Linked DNA regions of Homo sapiens: all the other regions are linked to region 5. Evidence: promoter capture Hi-C in human tissues and cell types (Jung and others, 2019). All regions are on one chromosome and are shown on one strand. The core of a region is centred on a gene start or on the middle of the fragment in contact, and the rest is flanking DNA. Distances in the headings are between cores, read along the strand shown. Region 1 has its middle 12 kb from the start of MKRN3. Region 2 has its middle 110 kb from the start of NDN. Region 3 has its middle 130 kb from the start of NDN. Region 4 has its middle 35 kb from the start of MAGEL2. Region 5 holds the start of NDN (necdin, MAGE family member).

Region 1 (4,093 bases), core at 1,291-3,790, 110 kb before region 5:
AGAACCATAAGCCAAAGAAACCTGTATTTTAAATAAATTACCCATCCTCAGGCATTTCTTTATAGCAACACAAACAGACTGAGAAGCACTATTTTATAAAATAAAGGTGCACCTATATAACTTATGAATGGTATATAACATGGTATCAAAATATTGCCAGTTCTAGTTCATTTTGTGCTGCTGTAACAGAATACACATGCTCCTTGACTTATGATGGGGCTGTGTCCCAATAAACTCATCATAAGTAGAAAATATCATAGTTGAAAATGCATTTAATGTCCCTATAAACCCATTATAAAGACAAAAAAATCATAAGTCAAACCATTGTTAAGTCCAGATGCTCATTGATTTACATTGGGGTTATGTCCTGATACACCCATCGTAAAGTTGAGTAATCATAAGTTGAACCATCATAAACTGGGGCCCCTCTGTGCCTGAGACTGGGTAGTTTACAGTGAACAGAAGTTTATTGGCTTATTGTTATGGAGGCTGGGAAATCTAAGATTGAGGGGCCAATATCTGGTGAAGGCCTTCTTGTTGCACCATCCTGTGGCAAAAGGGCAATGAGAGTGAAGAGAGCAATAGCCTGAACTCAAAACTTCAAGCCCTTTTATAATTGGTATTAATCCATTCATGAGGGTAGAGCTCTCATTACCTCAACATTTCCCATTAGGCCTTACCTTCCAACACTGTTATATTGGGGATTAAGTTTCCAACACATCCTCTTGCGGGGACACATTCAAACCATAGTACCAACATAGTATAATACAAAAATAACTAGAGATCTATCTCATTTATAAATATTGATGCAAAAAATATGAAATGAAATATTAGAAAGTGAAAGAATAGCACTGTTAAAAAATAAGACTTCAGGAAGTAGTGGATTATATTCCAGGAAAACAAAGATGGTACAATATGAAAAAATATTTTTTCTTAATATATCAAAGGAAATAATCATATAAGCAACTTCATATATCTCCCAAATTTGTGATCAATTTGCTTTAGTGTATATAATACAGCTATTTAGAGCATAAATATATTTATATGTGTATATTACCCAAATCTAAATTTTTGAGAAATGAACACACAAAAACACATAACTAATGAAAAGAAATAAAAAATATAGGAAGATTAAAATATTAAATATAAAGGCTGAGACTTTGAAAACAATTAATAAAATAGATAAACCACTAACTAAATTAATGAGGAAAATGAGAAAAAATAAAAACAAAATCACATACACACATTCAATAGGAGGAATTCACAACATTCTATTAAACAAACATAAGAAATCATCACTCAACTAGATGAAGATTAATTGCAAAACTGAAATTGATGATTTTCCAGGCATTTATAATTTATCAAACATTGGCTACAAAACATGACAATGTAACCTACTAGTTAACATAAAATTAATAAAATGGTTATCACAATTTTAATAGGGATTGTCATAAAACCTTTAAAGAACAAATCATTAAAGTGCTATGTAACACAATCCAGAAGTTTAAAATGGAAGGAAGGGTCACTGACTTGTTTAATTATGAATGACACGTAATTTTATATCAGAGTGTAACTAAGGTAGTGAACACACACAAACACACATTCACAAATACATGCAAACTAATGATCAAGTTTATGAATAATGATGCAAAATTTTAAGAAAATATTAGAATAAAAATATTTCAGCATTGTATTTATTTAATTAGCCAAAAAAGGTAATCATATAATCATCTCTTTTGATCAGGCAAAAACAATTAGATTTTTCTCTCCTTTCTTCACTGTTAGTTATTATTTTGATGTATCAATCAATGCAATTGTATACAAGGCCAAAAAATGAGACATATAAATGATACATCCTTCAAAGAAGGATTTAAATTCCTCTCTCTGAGATGTTGTATGTTGAAAATCTGAAAATTTCTGTAAAACTTTAAAAAATAAAAATCAGTAAAATTCTAGGAGAAAAATAATAAATGTGGATAAGTTTCGTATAATATAGAAAATGTAATGAAATGCCTATTTTTGTTATCACAACAATAATTTAAAGTACACAAGAACCATGTACTTTAAATTTAGGAATAAATAAAAACTGGGAATAAATTTAAAAATGTGTTAAGTGCCTTCAGGAAACCATAAATACTTAAACAAATGATAATATATACTATATAATTTGATAGGGAACTTTAACATCACCAATGTGTCAATTTTTTAATGAATTTACAAAATTTCTAATAAAGTACTGCTTAGGGAAAAGTCTTAAACTGTGTCCTTCCTGTGCTCTCAATCACAACAATCATCAATGCAGAAAATGTCAGTGGCTAAATGTGGGGGCATTTCACACACACCAAGCAGCAGACACCAGCTGGGCATCCTCCAATTTAATTCCAAGGCTATCTACCTGGAGATAGTGTCAGATCCTGCAGGTGAGGGGCCGGCCTCAAGACTCCCCCCACTCCCTAGACACCAGTCACAAAGTCCAGGCCTCTGGAAGTTCTGACCAGTGGGCTTCAAGTTGGCATTCCCACGACCCACTCTTTGGATTTGATTAATTTGCTGGAGCAGCTCACAGAACTCAGTGAAACACTTATGTTTACTGATTTATTATAAAGGATATTACAAAGGATGCAGATGAAGAGATGCATTTGAGGAAGCTATGGGGGAATGGGGTGGAGCTCCCATGCCCTCCTGGAGTGCCACCCTCCAGGAACCTCCCGGTGTTCAGCTATCCAGAAGCCTTTGAGCCCAGTGCTCTGGGGTTTTTATGGAAGCTTCATGACATCAGCATTCCTTCCCCCAAGGTATGGGGGGTATGACCCTTTATCAGATGAGGATCTTATGATCCACATCAGAAAGGTTGGGGGAGATTGGAATCCTCCTGCCTTGAGGTGGGTGAAAAGAGGTCAGGAGAAGGTCAGAGAGATTCTCTTTCCTAAGTCCTGCTCCTGAAGCCTAACACACGCAGTATTTTTTTAAAAAGACTGTAACAAGGGCTATGGGAGTTATGAGCCAAGAACCGTAAATGAAAACGTGTGTGTGTGTTTTGTGTTTGTGTGTGTGTATCTCATAACAACACAAGTACAAACTAGTTCTTTATAACTAAACAAAAAACTATTGTGAAAGTTGATCTGTTGGGGGGGGCAGGAAGCCAACAGGACCAGAATATTTTAGAATTGAAAAGCATCCATTCAATGAACTTTACCAGGTCTTCAAACAGTGTCATATTGCCAGCAATATGAAAAGCAGATAGTGGGACTTGAATTGATAAAAAATATATGCTAAAAAGGTTCATAAATGGACATATGTATTGAGTTGATGATAAAGATAAAAATAACAGGATTATTTAATAAAGGTTGTCGGGTGAATTCAGGAGTCATGGGCTCCAAATACCATATTTTAACAGCAGTATAAATTCCACTTACATCAAAATTTCAGACAAATACAAAACCAGGAAAGGATTTTCTTTTTATTTTAAAGTCTTGGAGTCAAGAATGTCTTACAATGACATATTCTATAAAACTCTTAAAAGTTTGACCATAATTGTAGCAATAACTGCATAGGGTCTACTGTGTGCCAGGCGCTGTTCTGAGATGGTTTATCCCATTTAATCCTTCCAACCATCCCAAGAGGTAGTCACTATTAACCCCTTGTAGCAGCTGAGAGCACTGAAGCTGAGGGAGGCTCGTAGACATGTCCATGGCACACAGTTAATAGACTCGCCCATCTGACTGCAGGGCGGGACTCACACCAATTGCTCTGCCTTACAAATGTAACCAGTTTAAAATGAGCTAATGAATTTGACATGAGCAACTTCCCCACCCCTAAAAAAGTATCAAACTATAAAAAAGTCATAAAATGGGTTGAGAATTTATTTCTATAATACATAAAGGCTTCTTAATCAACAAAAACCTTAACAAAAAGTATACCTCTTGCACATAAACAAAATGCATATAGTTTGAAGGAGGGGAAAAGTTGTCAAGCATCACTAATAATACTTATTAAAATTGATGAAGTTTCAGTTTCCTCTCAATTTGTCAAAAACCCAGATGTTTAAAAACACACTCTGTTGGGAGAATAGGCATACTTTGCTTGCAGGAGT
Region 2 (3,640 bases), core at 190-2,689, 110 kb after region 5:
TCTAACACAAAATAGTACATACAATTAAATTACATTTATATGAGTTTTGAGAACAGGCAAAACTAATCTATTGTTAGGAAAAAATCAGAACAGTGGTTGCTGTGAATTAAATGGGAAGAGTTTGAGAGTATTTTCTGAGTTGATGGGAATTTTTCATATTTTGAAGGGTTTTGAGTTCCACGGTTGCATCCATGTGTCAAAACTCATCACTTAATAGTTGCACATTTCATGATAGGTGAAAGTTATCTTAAAAGTAAACAAATATTATGATCTCATTAATGATACATGTAAGGGTGATGTGTATGCCTATCTCCAATTTTCTTCAAAATGTATCAAAGAATAGGATGAGTTGAATGGAGGGATGGATATGGGGATAAATACTTGGTAGAAAACGTATAATAAAATGTCAACTGTGGAATCTAGGTGGTAGCTACACGATTCTTTAAACTTCGTTTGAAACTTTCATTACTAAATGGGAAAAAGAAAGGGGATTAAATTACATATCTAGGGTCAAGTGTTATATGCAATTAAATTTTTGATATTTGCTCTTTGGACTTTCACAACACACAACGTGGATTTTTTTTTTTTAAAAAAATCTTATCCTACTTTAGCTGAATATATATTCTGTACTGCCATGGAATAAAATTGGAAAACCTTATTTGGTAATACAGTCAAAATGATAATAAAGAAGGACAACTTATTTGTTAATGTTTTTCCATTAAAAGTATTTTTTTGTGAAAGATACTTTGAGGCAAAAATGATAGTACCTTTAATAAATATTGGGGCCAAAATATGTAATATTTTAATACAGGAAATGCCATTGAGGATCTGCTTATAGTTTTTCATCTCTTATTTGGCTCATTTGTTTGTGTCTTTAGAGTAAATATGAGAGTCAAGTAACTACAAGCAGCAGTGTAGGATGTTGGGTGGAGAGGAAGCCAGTAGGTGCAAGGGGTCTCATTGGGAACAGAAAAACGTTCACAGCTCAGCACAGCATTCTCCACTGCCTCTGTGACTCCTGTTTAGCCCATTACCAGATGGAGTTCTGGAGGTGAAGTTATTATGGAACCGTGAATAAGAAGCTGAAAGTGATCCACGTCAGCTTCATTTCCAGATATCTTCATCTCCATCTCTTCCGGCCCACACTCTTCTCTTTCTGAGCATGCTCTTTGTGACCAAAGTTGTTCTTGGGAGCTGGGAATTAGAGCTCACTTTGGGGTTGTTGAGTGATGGAAATATCAATCACATTCTAACAATACGTGATTTAAGGTACTAGATGTAAGCTTCCTGTAGCTTCTCTTGATTATTAGCGAGATTTTACAGAAAAATCGGGACCTTCAAAATACGCACTTGCCCTCATATTTGCAGACCTGTGAAAACTTTCTTGCCTTTTTGAATGGCATCTTCTGGTCTTTAGCATTCTGTGTTTAGCATCTACTGGGCCTGAAAACATTAACCTACAATATCAGACCTCCTACCTGTCTTGTACCTGGGCAGTGCTGAGATTTTGGAAAGACGTGTGAGCATTAACAGTACTTTGTAGGTGCCAACACTTCCATGGCACTTCTGAGCTGCAAGGTGCTGTTCTGAGGCTTTTGTACAATTAACTCATTTAAACATCGTTAGAACCCCATGATATCAGTAATATTATGTTCCTGCTGCAGATGAGACAGTGGCACAGAGGGGTTAAATGATTTACGTAAAGTCACTCTCCTGAGAGGCAGAATCAGGATTTGCACCGGGGTGTCAATGAGGCAGACTCTGTGTTCCTATCGGCCATGTTCTGCAGTTTCTCATAGAATCTAAAGTCACAATGAGAATGAGGCCTGGCAAGGGGTTAAGCAAGATGTAGAATAAAATGACAAGAACAGCTGCCCATGATCTATTTAAGACAAGGAATGGAAAATCCTGTGAAAGTTGACCAGGGGCGAAGTAAGAGCTCAGAGAGCCAGAGGGGCTCCTGTTGACCAAATGGCCAGAATAGCGGCACCTAAGGAATGGCCTTCCTGATCTCAGAAACCTGAGCCAGGCGCTCACCAGCTGCTCTCCTCACCCCAGGCCAAGGAGCCAGAGGGGAAGCCGTGGCTGCCTGATGTGATTGGGTTAGACCCACAGTTGGAAACTAGATACCTGGAGAGATGTAGTGTCCAGTGAAAATCTAAGCAGGTTGAGCCCTCAGGGGACAGAGGTAGCGATGTCTAACCAGGACAGGGCACATGCTGGGACAAGGCAGGTGGCAGCCCATGCTGCCAGGAGAGATCATCCATCAAAGATTCTTCCTCAATCCATCAGCTTCGTCATTTCAGCCCATGCTTTTCTCACATATCACTGTACAGGAGTGGAGAGGGAGGTTGTTTGTCTATTTTTCTCCCCACCTAGGTTGGCCCTTCTCTCCCTATGCACACCCAAAGCTCATGATTACTGGGGAGCTTTCTGCTGTGCATATGCTTTTTGAGGTTGATATACCTATCCATAGCTCTCTCGACATACAGCTCCTTGGTCCAGGACTTTGGGTGGGGATGTACGGACATAAGTATAAAGTGAACAAAATCTCTAATATTCCAGGATGTGAGCTGTGACCTGAAGAAGCAGTTTCAGAGGGGCAGCCTAAAGGGCTAATACTTGCACTTCAGGACAACCAAGTAAAGAAAACAGGATTGCTTAATAAATCCCAGCTCATGCCCTGTGTTCTCTGTTAGGAGCATTCCTGCCTTCTGGCCTTCAAGTCTCACAAACCATGGGGATTGACCAGCAAACATGGGATGGCGAGGACATGCTGTGCACCAGGAACATTAAAGGGTTCAACACTTCCTGTCTACACACATTTGGGATTGGCATCCCTAATTTTTCACATTTTTTTTTTCCTGAGAGTAATAGGGGTGATCAGGAAACTCCTCTGGGCTTAAGATGGGCCAGCAGGTTTTCCTGGAGCCTCTGCTCTGTACTCTATGTGTCCTGTAGTGGGTCTTCATTGTAGCTATGCTGTTTCCACAGCTCTCAGCAGATGTGGGGAGAAGGGCAGGGGGCTGGAAAAGCTGGAGGACTTGCCTGACCTTTCATCTCTTTTGGGGCAGCAATCATGTGTATTTTTGTTTGTTTTGTTTTGTTTGTTTGTTTTTTCCACAATGCAGACTCTCTTATTTGATTCCATGTAAGTTGCCCAATTCCAGTAACTTTTTAGCCTATCAATATGCAACCACAAAGATTTAGTTTTGAGGTGCCACTGTATCTGGTTAAGGTGTGAGGGGGAAATTAAACTCTGTTGGTCTCGGGTTTAAGATATGAAATAACCAAGTGGATGGAGTTTCATGAAGGGATGCTAAGAGTTCTGTGGGCCTGGTGGAACCCTCATAAGACTGAGTGAAGAGTGAAGATATGTTGTGTGTTCTGACTCCATCCGTTGAGGAGACATGGAGGCAGCAACACCCCAGCTGCCCTGAGCACATACAGCACCAAGATCTTGGCTTCTAAATAATATCCTCCAATAAAAGGAGACGGTTGGGAGGCTGAAGCTAAATAATATCCTCCAATAAAAGGAGACGGTTGGGAGGCTGAAGCAGGAGACTTGCTTGAACCCAGGAGGCGGGAGTTGCAGTGAGCCGAGATCATGCCATTGCACTCCAGCCTGGGCAACAGGAGC
Region 3 (3,733 bases), core at 401-2,900, 130 kb after region 5:
CATCATCTATGCTAATTAGAAGATTTGGCAATGCCACATTTCTTGAGCAAGTCCTGTGCTACTCTTTTGTGAATGTATTTTTCCAATCTACTGACAGACTCTGCAGGTTTTGTTTTTCGTTATCTCACCCAAAGGTATTCATAGAAGCTTTTCAGACCATGTTTGTGTATGTGCATGCAAAGACAATCACATTACAACTGTCTTCCCACCAGTAGTGTTTGACACTGTTAATTTTCACATGAATCTGTGTTTGAGATAGGTGGGATGTATGCAGTAACATCAATGGAATGCACTACTTTCTCAGCAATTGCTCATTCTCAGTGTATAGTCATTGCAGCTCATTTGCTGTATTCTGCTCTATCATTGAGGAAACATGCTTAAATATTGTTTCTGACTAGCTATTAGAGACAGTAAAATTATTAGTGGGCTACCAAATATCATAATTTACCTGAGGAGAGTTGCTTTTATAAACTGTGATTCAAGAAGTCCATGGAATAGGGAGATAGAAATGGCAAAAAGTTACTTGAAAGTATGCACAGGGGTGATAGCTTTCTAAAAACTTTCAGAAAGTTATATTTTGCAAATTTCTGCTCTAATCTTACAAATATGATCAATGTTCCCTATAAGCTGCATGCCAAAATCAATTCTTAAATCCATAAAACTTGGTTATATTTTCCTATTGTTCTTTCACCCTTAATCATTTGGATATTTATCATACAAATCATATTATGATCAGTTATTGCAAAAGTAGTTGCATTTGGTCTCCATAGAATGCTTTGCTCTGCCCACTTGCAACACTGACAAACTCTACTTCTGGGCACTTGGAGATTGGAACGGGCTTAGCTGTTCCCTGATGAATATACTTAAGAAGAAATTCATATCGTTCGTAATTTAGGATGTTGACTGAAATTGCACCTAGAGTTGCAGGCTTCAGGAAGGCTCAATTAACTTTACAGTGTGTCCTGATCTCAAATATATGACCCATGAATCCACTGGGAACCATTCTCTATTCAGGCTACCGTGGGCAGACAGGGTAGTGGGGCCTTACTACATGATATGGTGTAAGACTTTGGGATGTTTGCGATGACAGATTTCTTAGAATTTGGGTGGTCAGGCCAGCATCTGTAAAATCAGGTCAGAGGTACAGCAGTCGGTTGTGGGAAATCATATATTCCAGGCTATCAGAGAGTAATGTCTGGGGACTTGGTGCCCAACACTGTGTCCTGTGACATCAATGTTAGCACAGTCTTATGTCTGTCACCTGCTCTGTCTTCATCCTGAGCACTCACTGACCAGAGCTCATTGACCCTCATTTGCTAAATGGAGATGGGTCTTTTCTTGTCCAGTTCTACTTGCAGCCTGTTTATGGCATTTTGCTATGCCTCTTTTTGGTGAAAAGTGTGTCAGGGGATAATCACAGTGTACATTATTATGGATTTTAGTGTATGCATTGGAATAAATAGGAAAAGGGGATTTGACAAGCTATTTGGCATTATAGAAAGTACAGTTAAAATTAAATAATCTGAGTAACCTTCCATGTTTTAAGACGAAACATTTAAGTGTGCCTGCCTGTCTCAAGGAGTGAAATATGAGCTTGGAGGAGTGAGGTTTCTTGAATTAGAAATGCCCACAATAACAGCGACTAAATAACTGCTATCCTGATCTCAGAAATGAGAACTCTGGTCCAGGTCAGGTGCATCTCTCACTGTAGGTCTAAACACTACAGGAGCTCATTTTCCCACTGAAGCTATAGATCTAGTATGGAGAATATAACCTATGATTACAGATCATAAAAGCAAGAGTCTTGGCTTTGTAGATGTCCATGGGATTGTGGCCATGCAGTCCCCCGACTTTGTAGGCTTTGTAGGCATGGTTGCCAGAAACAGCCCGGTGCTCCCCAGAAGAGTGCTGTGGTCTGTGAACAAGGAGCTGTGTGGTGAGTGGGTGGGCAGCCCTGCTTGCTGTGAGATTGCTTAGCTAGCACATATGCAGAGTCACCATTTATCCTATGTCCATCTCTTAGACCCGCGCATGGAGGTTTGAGAATATGTTGTACCATGTTGCTCTTTTGTTTATTTCACCAGGATTTCTTTACCTGTGCACAACACAATCTGAATCACTCACTTTCCTAAACCTGATAAAAACCTTGTGTCTAAAGCTTCATTTTCAGATATGAGTAAGCAGGGACTGGCTTAAATGAACATGATTGCAAATACTTCTCTTTTTTTACACCAAGACAGCCCACCTGCTACCAAGACTATACTTTTTTGTGGTTTTAGGGCTTGGTGCTGGTTAATGTAATTTCATGATGTGGCTGTTAACAGAATACGTGGTCCCAAATAATTCCTCATGGAGTCTCTAAAATGAAAAGAGCTTAATTATCACAGGATTTTTCAAAGGCTTGAAGGTACAGATGTGTTTTTAAATCTTAAGGAAGGAAAATCTGTAACCAAACAAGAAAAAAAATATCTTAAGTGCCTAAATATGATTTATTTTCCCTATTACTCCCGTTTCTCCATATTCACTTCTACTGTCCAGAGTCATGTCTTCCAAAGAGTCTTTGGTGGGATTCCGCAGATACAGGACTAGACGTTGTCTGAAATGGGTCTTTCTGTGAGGCACAGGCATCTATCTTTAAAGAAGTGGTTACTGACACTCACACAGGCAACTGGGTAATGAGGAGCATGAGGGGGAAGAAGAAAAGAGTAGGAGAGCCCTGGAACTTGATGATGTCTACCTGAAGAAGGTGCCCCTGGATTTGGAATGCTGACTAGATAAAGGAAGCAGCTTTGCATTCTTTCTATGTGCCTGTTCATTCGCGGAGCCCAAGTTTGTGTTTGTGTTCATTCTGGTGTTTGTTTGCAAGTTCTTTTCTATCACAGTAATACCTTTAAAATAGTATTTTCATTTTTATAATGTTAGATTTATAGAAAGCTGCAAAAAGGATTCAGTGAGTTTCATATGCTCTTCAGCTTCCTGTAATGTTAATATCTGACATAGCCATAGTATATTTATGAAAGCTGAGACACTGATGGTAAAAATAGCTATTAACTGAATTAAAGACTTTCTTTATATTTTACCAGGATTTCCACTAATGTCATTTGTCTGTTCCAGGATCCAATCCAGGATAGCACATGACGTTTAGTTCTTAAGTGCATTACTTATTTATTGCTGCCTTGTAAATTACCACAAATTTACTGGCCTAAAACTGCAAAACGTATTGTCTCATAGTTCTCTGGGTCAAGAATTGAGACATAGATGATAGCCAAGGCTGAGGTCTCAACTAAAATCTCAGCTGGTGAAGAAGTTACTTCTTAGCTCACATTATTGCTGTTTGAACTCAGTTCATTGCAGGCTGTTGGTCAAAGCCTGCATTTAGTCCCTCCAGGTGTTGGCTTCTCCTACATGCCAGAAGCCTCCATCAAAGCCATTGAGGGACAGAGTTTGCAGCAAGACAGAAAAATCACAATCTTATGTAAAATGATCACCTAAGTGTCATCTCATCACCTTTGCAGTATTCTCTTGTTCAGTATTCAACTCAGCTTCTGGCCACATTCATGAGGAATTAGTATTCAAGGTTGTGTCATACCAAGATATGGGAATCATTTACCTTCTGTATCAGCTATTCTCCAATCTACAATCTTTACTTAGTTTTCATGACTTTGAACCTTTTGAAAAGTACTGGCCAGTTGTTTTGCAGTGTCCCACAATATGGATTTGTCTGATGGTTTCT
Region 4 (4,115 bases), core at 1,222-3,721, 74 kb before region 5:
AATTTGGCAGTCACATGCATGGATTTAGAAAGACAAAGTTGGAAATGAATTGTTGCAGCTAATTTCTCCCTCAAGACATTGTCTACATTCTGAAGCTAGATCTGGTGGCAGAGGAGACTAAGGAGCTCAGTATTTCCACATAGTAACAACAAACATTCTAAAAAGAAACAAGAGAACAATCTTACTTACAACAGCTTCAAAAAATAAAATATTTAGAAATAAGTTTAACCAAGAAGGTGAAAGACCTGTACACTGAAAAATGTTAATAACAAAAATTATAGAAGACACAAATAAATTGGAAGATATTCTGTGTTCATAGATTGGAAGAATAATGTTGCTAAAATGTCCATACTACCCCAAATGACTTATAGACTCAAAGCAATTTCTAACAAAATTGTAATGTAATTATTCATAGTAACAGAAAAAAATATAAAATTAATGTGGAACCACAACAAACTCTGAATAGCCAAAGGAATCATGAGTAAGAAGATGAAAGCTGGAGGCACCAACCACATGCATGATTTAAAACTACACTACAAAGCAATAGTAATTAAAACAGTGTGATACTGGCATGAAAATAGACTCGTTGGCTGGGTGCAGTGGCTCACGCCTGTAATCCCAGCACGTTGGGAGTCTGAGGCAGGAAGATCATGAGGTTAGGAGTTTGAGACCAGCCTGACCAACATGGTGAAAGCCCGTCTCTACAAAAAATACAAAAATTAGCCAGGCATGGTGGCACATGCCGGTAATCCCAGCTACTCAGGCAACTGAGGCAGGAGAATTGCTTGAACCCGGGAGGCAGAGGCTGCAGTGAGCCTAGATTACACCACTGCACTCCCGCCTGGGTGACAGAGCAAGACTCTATCTCAAAAAAAGAAAGAAAGAAAAGAAAAAGAAAATAGACTCATCAACCAATAGAATAGAAGATAAAACCCAGAAAAGAATACATGCATATGTAGTCAATAAATTTTTAACAAAGGTGCCAAGTATACATATTGGAAAAGGGACAGTCTCTTCAATAAGTGGTGTTGGGAAAAGTGCATATTCACATTCATAAGAATGTTGGATCCTTATCTCACACCCTGTACAAAAATAAACTCAAATTGGATTAAATACTTAAGCATAAGACCTGAAATTCTAAAACTACTAAGAGAAAACATAAGGGAAAAGCTACACAACATTGGTCTGGGCAATGAGTTTTTGGATTTGACCCCAAAATCACAGGCAACAAAAGCAAAAATAGACAAATGTCATTACATCAAAATAAAAAGATTTTGCAAAACAAAGGAAACAATTAATAGAGTAAAAAAACTACCTATTGTTTGGGAGAAAATACTTGAAAGCCATACATCTGATAAGGGGTTAATATCCAAAATATATAAGGAACTCAGCTCTACAGAAAAACAAACAAATAACCCTATTAAAAATAGAGAAATTACTTAAATAGACATTTCTCAAGAGAAGACATAAAAATGATCAACAGATATATGAAGAAGTGTTTGACACCACTAATCATCAGAAATGCAAATAAAATCTGCAATGAAATATCACCTCACACGTGTTAAAATGGTTATTGTCAAAACAATGAACAATTCGTGTTGGGGAGGGTGTCGAGGAAAGGGAACCTGTATGCACTGCTGGTGGGAATGAAAGTTAGAACAGCCATTATGGAAAAATAAACTAAAAATAGAATTATCATATGATCCGGCAATCTCACTTCTGGATATATACCCCCACAATTTAAAATCAGTGTGTTAAAGAGGTATGTGCACTTCCATGTTTGTTGCAGCACTATTTCCCAAAGCCAAGTTATGAAATCAACCTAAGGGTCCATCATCAGATGAATGAATAAAGAAAATGTGGGGAAAAAAGAAAACGTGGTATATATACCCAATAGAACATTATTAAACCTTAAGAAAGAAATTCTGTCATTTGTGACAACATAGACGGAATTGGAGAACATTATACTAAATGAAATAAGCCAAGAAGAAAGACAAATACTGTGTTACCTCACTCATATATGGAATATAAAACAATCAAAGAAGTAGAGAGAAGAATGGTGGTTACCAGAGGATGAAGGGATAGAGTTAGTAGGGAGATAACGGTCAAAGGGTATCAAGCCTCATTTAGATTGGACAAGTAAGTTTTATTTTCTTTGGAATGTATTGCACAGCATGGTGAATACAGCCAATGAAAATGTAGAGTACACTTCAAAACCGTTGAGAGTCAATTTCAAATGTTCTCACCACAAAAAACGGGTATGTGGGCTGATACACACGTTATTAAGTTTCATTTAATTATTTCACATTGTATTTAAGCATCATAACATTCCTTTGTATTCCATAAATATATATAATTTGTCAATTTACTGTTGAACAATAAAAATAAATCTTTACAACAACAAGAACAATAAAAAGTGAACACAGGGTGACTTATTTTCACCAGACAGATGAGGAAAGCTTCCCTGAGCAGATCACTTCAGATCTCAAGGCTATGAAGGCATTAGCCAGGATAACAGCAGCATGTGAAAAGTGTCTGTGACTGAAGGACGCATGGTGTTTTTGGGGAACCACCGTAAGGTGAGACAGCTGGTGCACAGAGAGAGGGTGAAAGGTGATCATGGTGGAAATGATGCCACCACGATGATGAGCGAGGATGATTCTTATAACTGACATCTCATAATGGAATGGAAACTTTACAGGAAACAGATGGAGGCTGGAAGTAAATATATGTACATACACACAAATAGGCCAAACGAGAACTGCTATGGTCAGAATCTTTGTGTTTTCCCAAAATTGATTTGTTGAAACCTAACCCCAAGGTGATGGTACTAGAAGGTGAGGGGCTTTTTGCTGGTGATTAGATCATGAGGGTGGAGCCTCATTAATGGGATTAGTGCCCTTATAAAAGGAACCTTGGAGAGCTCTTTCACCCTTTCCTCCATGTGAGGACACAGCGTAAAAACAGCCATTGGTGAACCAGGAAGCAGGCCCTCAGCAGACACCAAATCTGCCAGCACCTTGACCCTGGATTTCCCAGCCTACAAATCTATGAGAACTAAATGTCTGTTGCTTATAAGCCACCCAGTCTATGGTATTCTGTTATAGCAGCCTGAATGGATTAAGACAAGAGCTAAAGGAGATCCCATAGAGCAAAATAAATAACTTTCAGGAACTTTATAAAGCATTACTTATACCTAAATATCAGCAGATTGATTAGAGGGAAGGGTTCACAGACTTCAGTGATACCCACACCACAGGTTGAGGACACAGACACACTGTAAAAATTTGTATTTAATGCCATTCCTTGCACTGGTCTATTAGTTCCCAACCCTTCTTGCATATCCAGTGGTAGCCTTCAGTAATTCTCCCCTCTCTCTATATATTATTAATGTATCACACTTAATTAAAATATTCTCATGAACATAAAACTGTGCTGGAATTTCTTTTTTTAATTTTTACTTTAAGTTCTGGGGTACATGTACATAGCGTGCAGGTTTGTTACCTAGGTATACCTGTGCCATGGTGGTTTGTTGCACCTATCAACCCGTTATCTAGGTTTTAAGCCCTGCATGCATTAGGTATTTGTCCTAATGCTCTCCCTCCCCTTGTCCCCCACCCCCCGACAGGCCCTGGTGTGTGATGTTCCCTTCCCTGTGTCCATGTGTTCTTACTGTTCAACTCCCACTTATGAGTGAGAACATGCGGTGTTTGGTTTTCTGTTCCTGTGTTAGTTTGCTGAGAATGATGGTTTCCGCGTCCCTGCAAAGGATATAAACTTATTCTTTTTTTTTTTTTTTTTTTTGAGACAGAGTCTTGCTCTGTTGCCCAGGCTGGAGTATAGTGGCATGATCTCGGCTCACTGCGACGTCCGCCTCCTGGGTTCAGGCGATTCTTTTGCCTCAGCCTACTGAGTAGCTGGGACTACAGGCACAGACCACCACACCCAGCTAATTTTTGTATTTTTAGTAAAGACGGGGTTTCACCATATTGACCAGGCTGGTCTGGAACTCCTGACCTCGTGATCCACCCACCTCAGCCTCCCAAAGTGCTGGGATTACAGGCGTGAGCCACTGTGCTCGGTGAAATTCTTTTTTATGGCTGCATAGTATTCCA
Region 5 (4,115 bases), core at 1,380-3,879:
ACCCGCAGCCCACCCCATCCTCTGAGGATTACCTAGTGGCTCACCGCAACTGAAGGGCTGCAAGGCCACAGACATCCTGATGGACAACCCACCTCCCTCTCTCAGGTGTCTTGTGTGTTTGTCAGAGAAGGTGCCTTCACCTCCAACCCTCAGGAGAGATTGTTTCAAATCCTAGCTTCACTGCTAAATAGGAATATCACTTTGTTAGGTTAATTAACCTCTCCAAAAGTAAGTTTCTTAATTTGCACAATCAGAATGATATTGCTTTCTCCAAAATATCATGAGAATTAGAAAAATAAAATTCCTAGCCTTTTTGTATGTGTGGCCCATGAACCCATGTGATTGTAGGCTCCCACATAAAATGTAAAAATAAATTTAAAAATAAATAACCTAAAAGCCACGGGGTATAGGGCAGTCGTAGGCAGGTGGAGACAAATGTGGGCTCTGGATTCATTCTGAGTTCAAGTCCTAGCTCCTTCTCTTATTAACCTTTATGAGCTATGGAAAGTTCATTACCTACATTATTCCTGTGTTTCCTCCATGGTGCAGAGGCAGTAGGTGCCTGCCTGACAGGCCTGTTGCAAGGATTAAAGGAGAAAAATACATGTTAGGGCTTAGCACAATGTCTCACTCTTTTATATTATAAATATGTTATATGTATATTAATAGATGTCACAAGACATCTATTAATTTTGATAAAATGTAGAAACTTAAGGGAAGGAAATTATTTTTGTTTTTTATTCCCATATGATGTGATTACAGACAATCTTACTGTTTTGTTTTGTATACTTTTCTATATTTGTGAATGTTTTTGAAATAAACATGAGTTACATTTAAAGACAATAGAACTATAAACTTCACAAATTTAGGAGTAATCATGAGTAGCGATTTTTCCCACCCTATTAGGGGAAATAGTTGTATCTGTATACACTGTAAAATAGAGAATTGTCTCATTCCCAACCATACTGCTTTGTTAAAATGATAAAGTACACTTTTCCAAAAATGATTGTATCACAAGAATCTTTAATGTTTACTTTAAAGTTGACTCACGGTGGGGTTGTATATGTGTTTAGTAAAGTGTGCCAAGTGCTCACACTGAGACCAGTCCAGTTCAAATTAGTGTACTCCACGAGGGTGTTTTCTGTGCCCAGCAAGGTCATGAAGGGCCTTGACTTTTCTTGGTTAGGCCGGCTTTGCTGGTGACTTCTTCCAAACTCTGCAGGAGCAGTCTACCCCAACACACATCATCAGTCCCATATAAAAGAATAAGATGGAAACTTTCTCAATGTATTTCATCAGTTTAGCACATCTCTGGTACAAAAATCCAAGAAAGGTAGCACAAAAGCGAAAGCACCAACCAAGCTTACATATAAACAAACATGCATACATCCTAAATACTACACAATAGTACCCAAATGAATACAACATTGCATTAAAGGTATAAAAGCACTGTACTGAAAACTTAAAAGTTACACGTGAATACTGCACTGTAAATCCTGAATACTATAATGACCCACCCCCACCCTTCCACAGCCCTGGTGAGGGTCAGAAACCATTCATCTGCCTCCAGACTTTGCTAGTCCTCAGAGACACTGCTGCGAGGGTAGTGGGCAGTGGGATTAGCCTCCCGCAGAGCTCTGGCCTCCTCCAGAGCTTCTCTGTATCGGGAGGGCCAGGCCTGGGGGTCTTTCTTAAAGACCCTGGCCAGGAACTCCATGATTTGCATCTTGGTGATTTCGCGGCTGGCCCGGGAGCCCCAAAAGAACTCGTATTCGGGCGGCTCCACGTATGGGACGCGCTGGTACTTCAGGTAATTCATTTGGACGAACTCCTCAGTGATGAGCTTCCGCACGTCCCCGAAGGTGGAGTGCTTCTTCCAGGGCCGCAGCCCCAGGATGCGCAGCACGTTCCAGACGGCGCTCTCTCTGGCGCCGCGGCCCTTCACGTAGATGAGGCTCAGGATCATGAGCAGGAGGCCTGTCATGGGCATGCGGTTGCTCAGCGCCACCCTGTCCAGCTCCTCGGGCTCCAGCGCTTTGACCAGCGCAAACTCCATGGTGTGCAGGCTGGTTAGCCTCAGGTGCAGCCCGAACACCCGGGCGAGGATGAGGCTGGTGCGCCGGAGGATGCTCCTGCACCACTTCTTGTAGCTGCCGATGACATCTTTCACCATGTCTGGAAACCAGATGATCATCTTCTTCTGGTCCTTGACCAGCACGTACCACATGAGCTCGTGCGCCTTCTGCACCAGCTGCGCCGGGGCTGGCGGTGCCGGGCCCGGCTGGGCCGCGCTCGGGGCCTGGTGGGCGCGGCCCTCCTCCGCAGCCTGCTGCAGGGCCTTCGGGTCGCCCTCGTCGTTCGGGGCCTGGGGAGGCGGCGCGGCCTGCGGAGCGGCCGTCGGGCCTAGAGGAGGGCTCTGCGGCTCTGCCAGGGTCGCGGACGGAGGAACCCCCTCCGAAACCCCAGGGCTGCTGTGCACCTCGGAGTTGGGGGCCTCGGCTGCAAAGTTAGGGTCGCTCAGATCCTTACTTTGTTCTGACATGTCTGCGCCGTCTGGCAAGGGCAGGGCCTCTGCGTCCAGGAGCTCTTCGAGCCTGCGCTCCCTCCGCGGATTCCTGGAGAGGAAGTGCGCGTTGCTGCGCGCGGCGCCTTCCGCAGCGACGGGCAGGGCGGGGCGGCGGCGGGACGCGGCACTGCGCCTGCGCGACCGCGGCCTTGGCCAGCGGCTGGGGGCGGGCGGGGCAGCGCGGGGCCCCGACGGGGAGGGTCCATGGCGAGGCTTCACCTGCTGGGAGAGCGATCCCGGGGTTTCCTGTTTGGGCTGAGAAGATCTAGGGCAGGAGAGAAGTGAGATGGATGCGTACTGGAGAAGGGGCCAGTTTAAGGGAAAGATACCTTAAGTTTTTGGGATGTTGGGGTCAAGTTTCTTGGGAAACGCTTACCTGGGTATATCCAGAATTAAGTTAAATATGAGAGTCCCAGAGAAAGGTCTGGGCGGCTTTGTAAACATGAGCTTTATGCGAACCAGTGAGAGGAACAGTCGGGCTTGTCCAAGAAAATGTGTAAACTGTAAAGTGGATGTCTGAGGTTGGAATCCTGAGAAATTCCAATAAAAAATGATCGACTCCCTACCAAATCAGATAGGCTATAAGAAAAGGGGAAATGCAGTGTGTCGTTAACGTAATTTCCTATCAACCCATGTGAACTATGAACTTTTTAAGTAGGCAGTGGACTTAGAGCATCATTAATGCTTTAACGGGCATAAATTTGGGTTTTACACTTCCTTTGGGTAACTTTGATTCCATTTTATTTTTTTCCATACTTAGTCCATAGCAGAAGGATTGCTATATCTTTTAGCACAAACTTGTATGATAATGTCTTTTCCCTCTGCCCAGCACCCTCATTCTTCAATTCACCTTCTCTCAGGACCCTCTCTGAAGCTACTGAGTCCTCCACGTTGGAAGCCACACCCAAGTCTTTCCTGAGATTTAAAAAAAAAATAGGTCCCATGGGTAATATCTGGTAGTGTCTCTGAGATGACCAAAGGGTAGCAGGGGAAACATAGGTAACCCTGTTTTCCAGGTATGGAAAACAGATTCCCAGTGGGCAAAGACAAAACTGTCACTCCTACAGGCTCTCCATGAAAAAAAGGGTCATTGCCTGAGCATCTGAAACCAGGGACCTTAATGCTGCTTCAGCATCCTTGGTCTGGGCTGATGTGGTCCTTCAGCTCTTCCCGGGTTTCTTCTCATCAGCAGCTTCTTAAATATGCTGTCTTGAATCTAGTTATTGCCACTCGAAGCCAAAAGCATATTTAAAAATTGTCTTGACATGTCTAGAGTCCTCACTGTGAGTATGTATCTTTTCCCACTTTATTTTTCCTCAAGCAGGTTGATGTTGAAAGGTTTTCTGTGCTTTCTCTCTTTGGGTTTGCACGCACATAACACTTTTGGCAGAGCCATTACCACACCAGTCCCTCCAACAGGACTCTTAAGCTTCCCACTTCACCAGGGTAATTCCTAGATATCAGTCTTAGTTGGAATTATTTCAACACTTTTCTCCTCCTCCTCACCCTCCTCCACCTCCTCCTTCTCCTCTCCATCTACTTCTCCTTT

Evidence for each region. Contacts are between HindIII fragments. The study calls those that stand out against the background at their distance.
Region 1: a fragment that was not itself captured here is called in contact with the fragment with the promoter of NDN in region 5 in 2 of the 25 tissues and cell types used here (IMR-90 fibroblasts and lymphoblastoid cells).
Region 2: a fragment that was not itself captured here is called in contact with the fragment with the promoter of NDN in region 5 in 2 of the 25 tissues and cell types used here (heart right ventricle and mesendoderm cells).
Region 3: a contact is called between a fragment that was not itself captured here and the fragment with the promoter of NDN in region 5, in 8 of the 25 tissues and cell types used here (adrenal gland, aorta, dorsolateral prefrontal cortex and 5 more).
Region 4: a fragment that was not itself captured here is called in contact with the fragment with the promoter of NDN in region 5 in 3 of the 25 tissues and cell types used here (H1 embryonic stem cells, dorsolateral prefrontal cortex and liver).

Annotation. Positions count from the first base shown.
Region 1 is chr15:23,575,835-23,579,927 of GRCh38, forward strand. No RefSeq gene overlaps it. Among named protein-coding and RNA genes, the nearest start is that of MKRN3, 12 kb to the left of the region's middle. The HindIII fragment of the contact is 8,655 bases long and covers 1-4,093 here.
Region 2 is chr15:23,791,435-23,795,074 of GRCh38, forward strand. No RefSeq gene overlaps it. Among named protein-coding and RNA genes, the nearest start is that of NDN, 110 kb to the left of the region's middle. The HindIII fragment of the contact is 3,366 bases long and covers 1-3,122 here.
Region 3 is chr15:23,813,546-23,817,278 of GRCh38, forward strand. No RefSeq gene overlaps it. Among named protein-coding and RNA genes, the nearest start is that of NDN, 130 kb to the left of the region's middle. The HindIII fragment of the contact is 5,926 bases long and covers 1-3,733 here.
Region 4 is chr15:23,610,695-23,614,809 of GRCh38, forward strand. No RefSeq gene overlaps it. Among named protein-coding and RNA genes, the nearest start is that of MAGEL2, 35 kb to the right of the region's middle. The HindIII fragment of the contact is 8,720 bases long and covers 1-4,115 here.
Region 5 is chr15:23,684,676-23,688,790 of GRCh38, forward strand. It overlaps NDN (necdin, MAGE family member), which reads right to left and starts at 2,630. Exons shown (of 1, transcript NM_002487.3): 1 at 725-2,630. The coding sequence starts at 2,542. The coding sequence ends at 1,577. The HindIII fragment of the contact is 8,447 bases long and covers 507-4,115 here.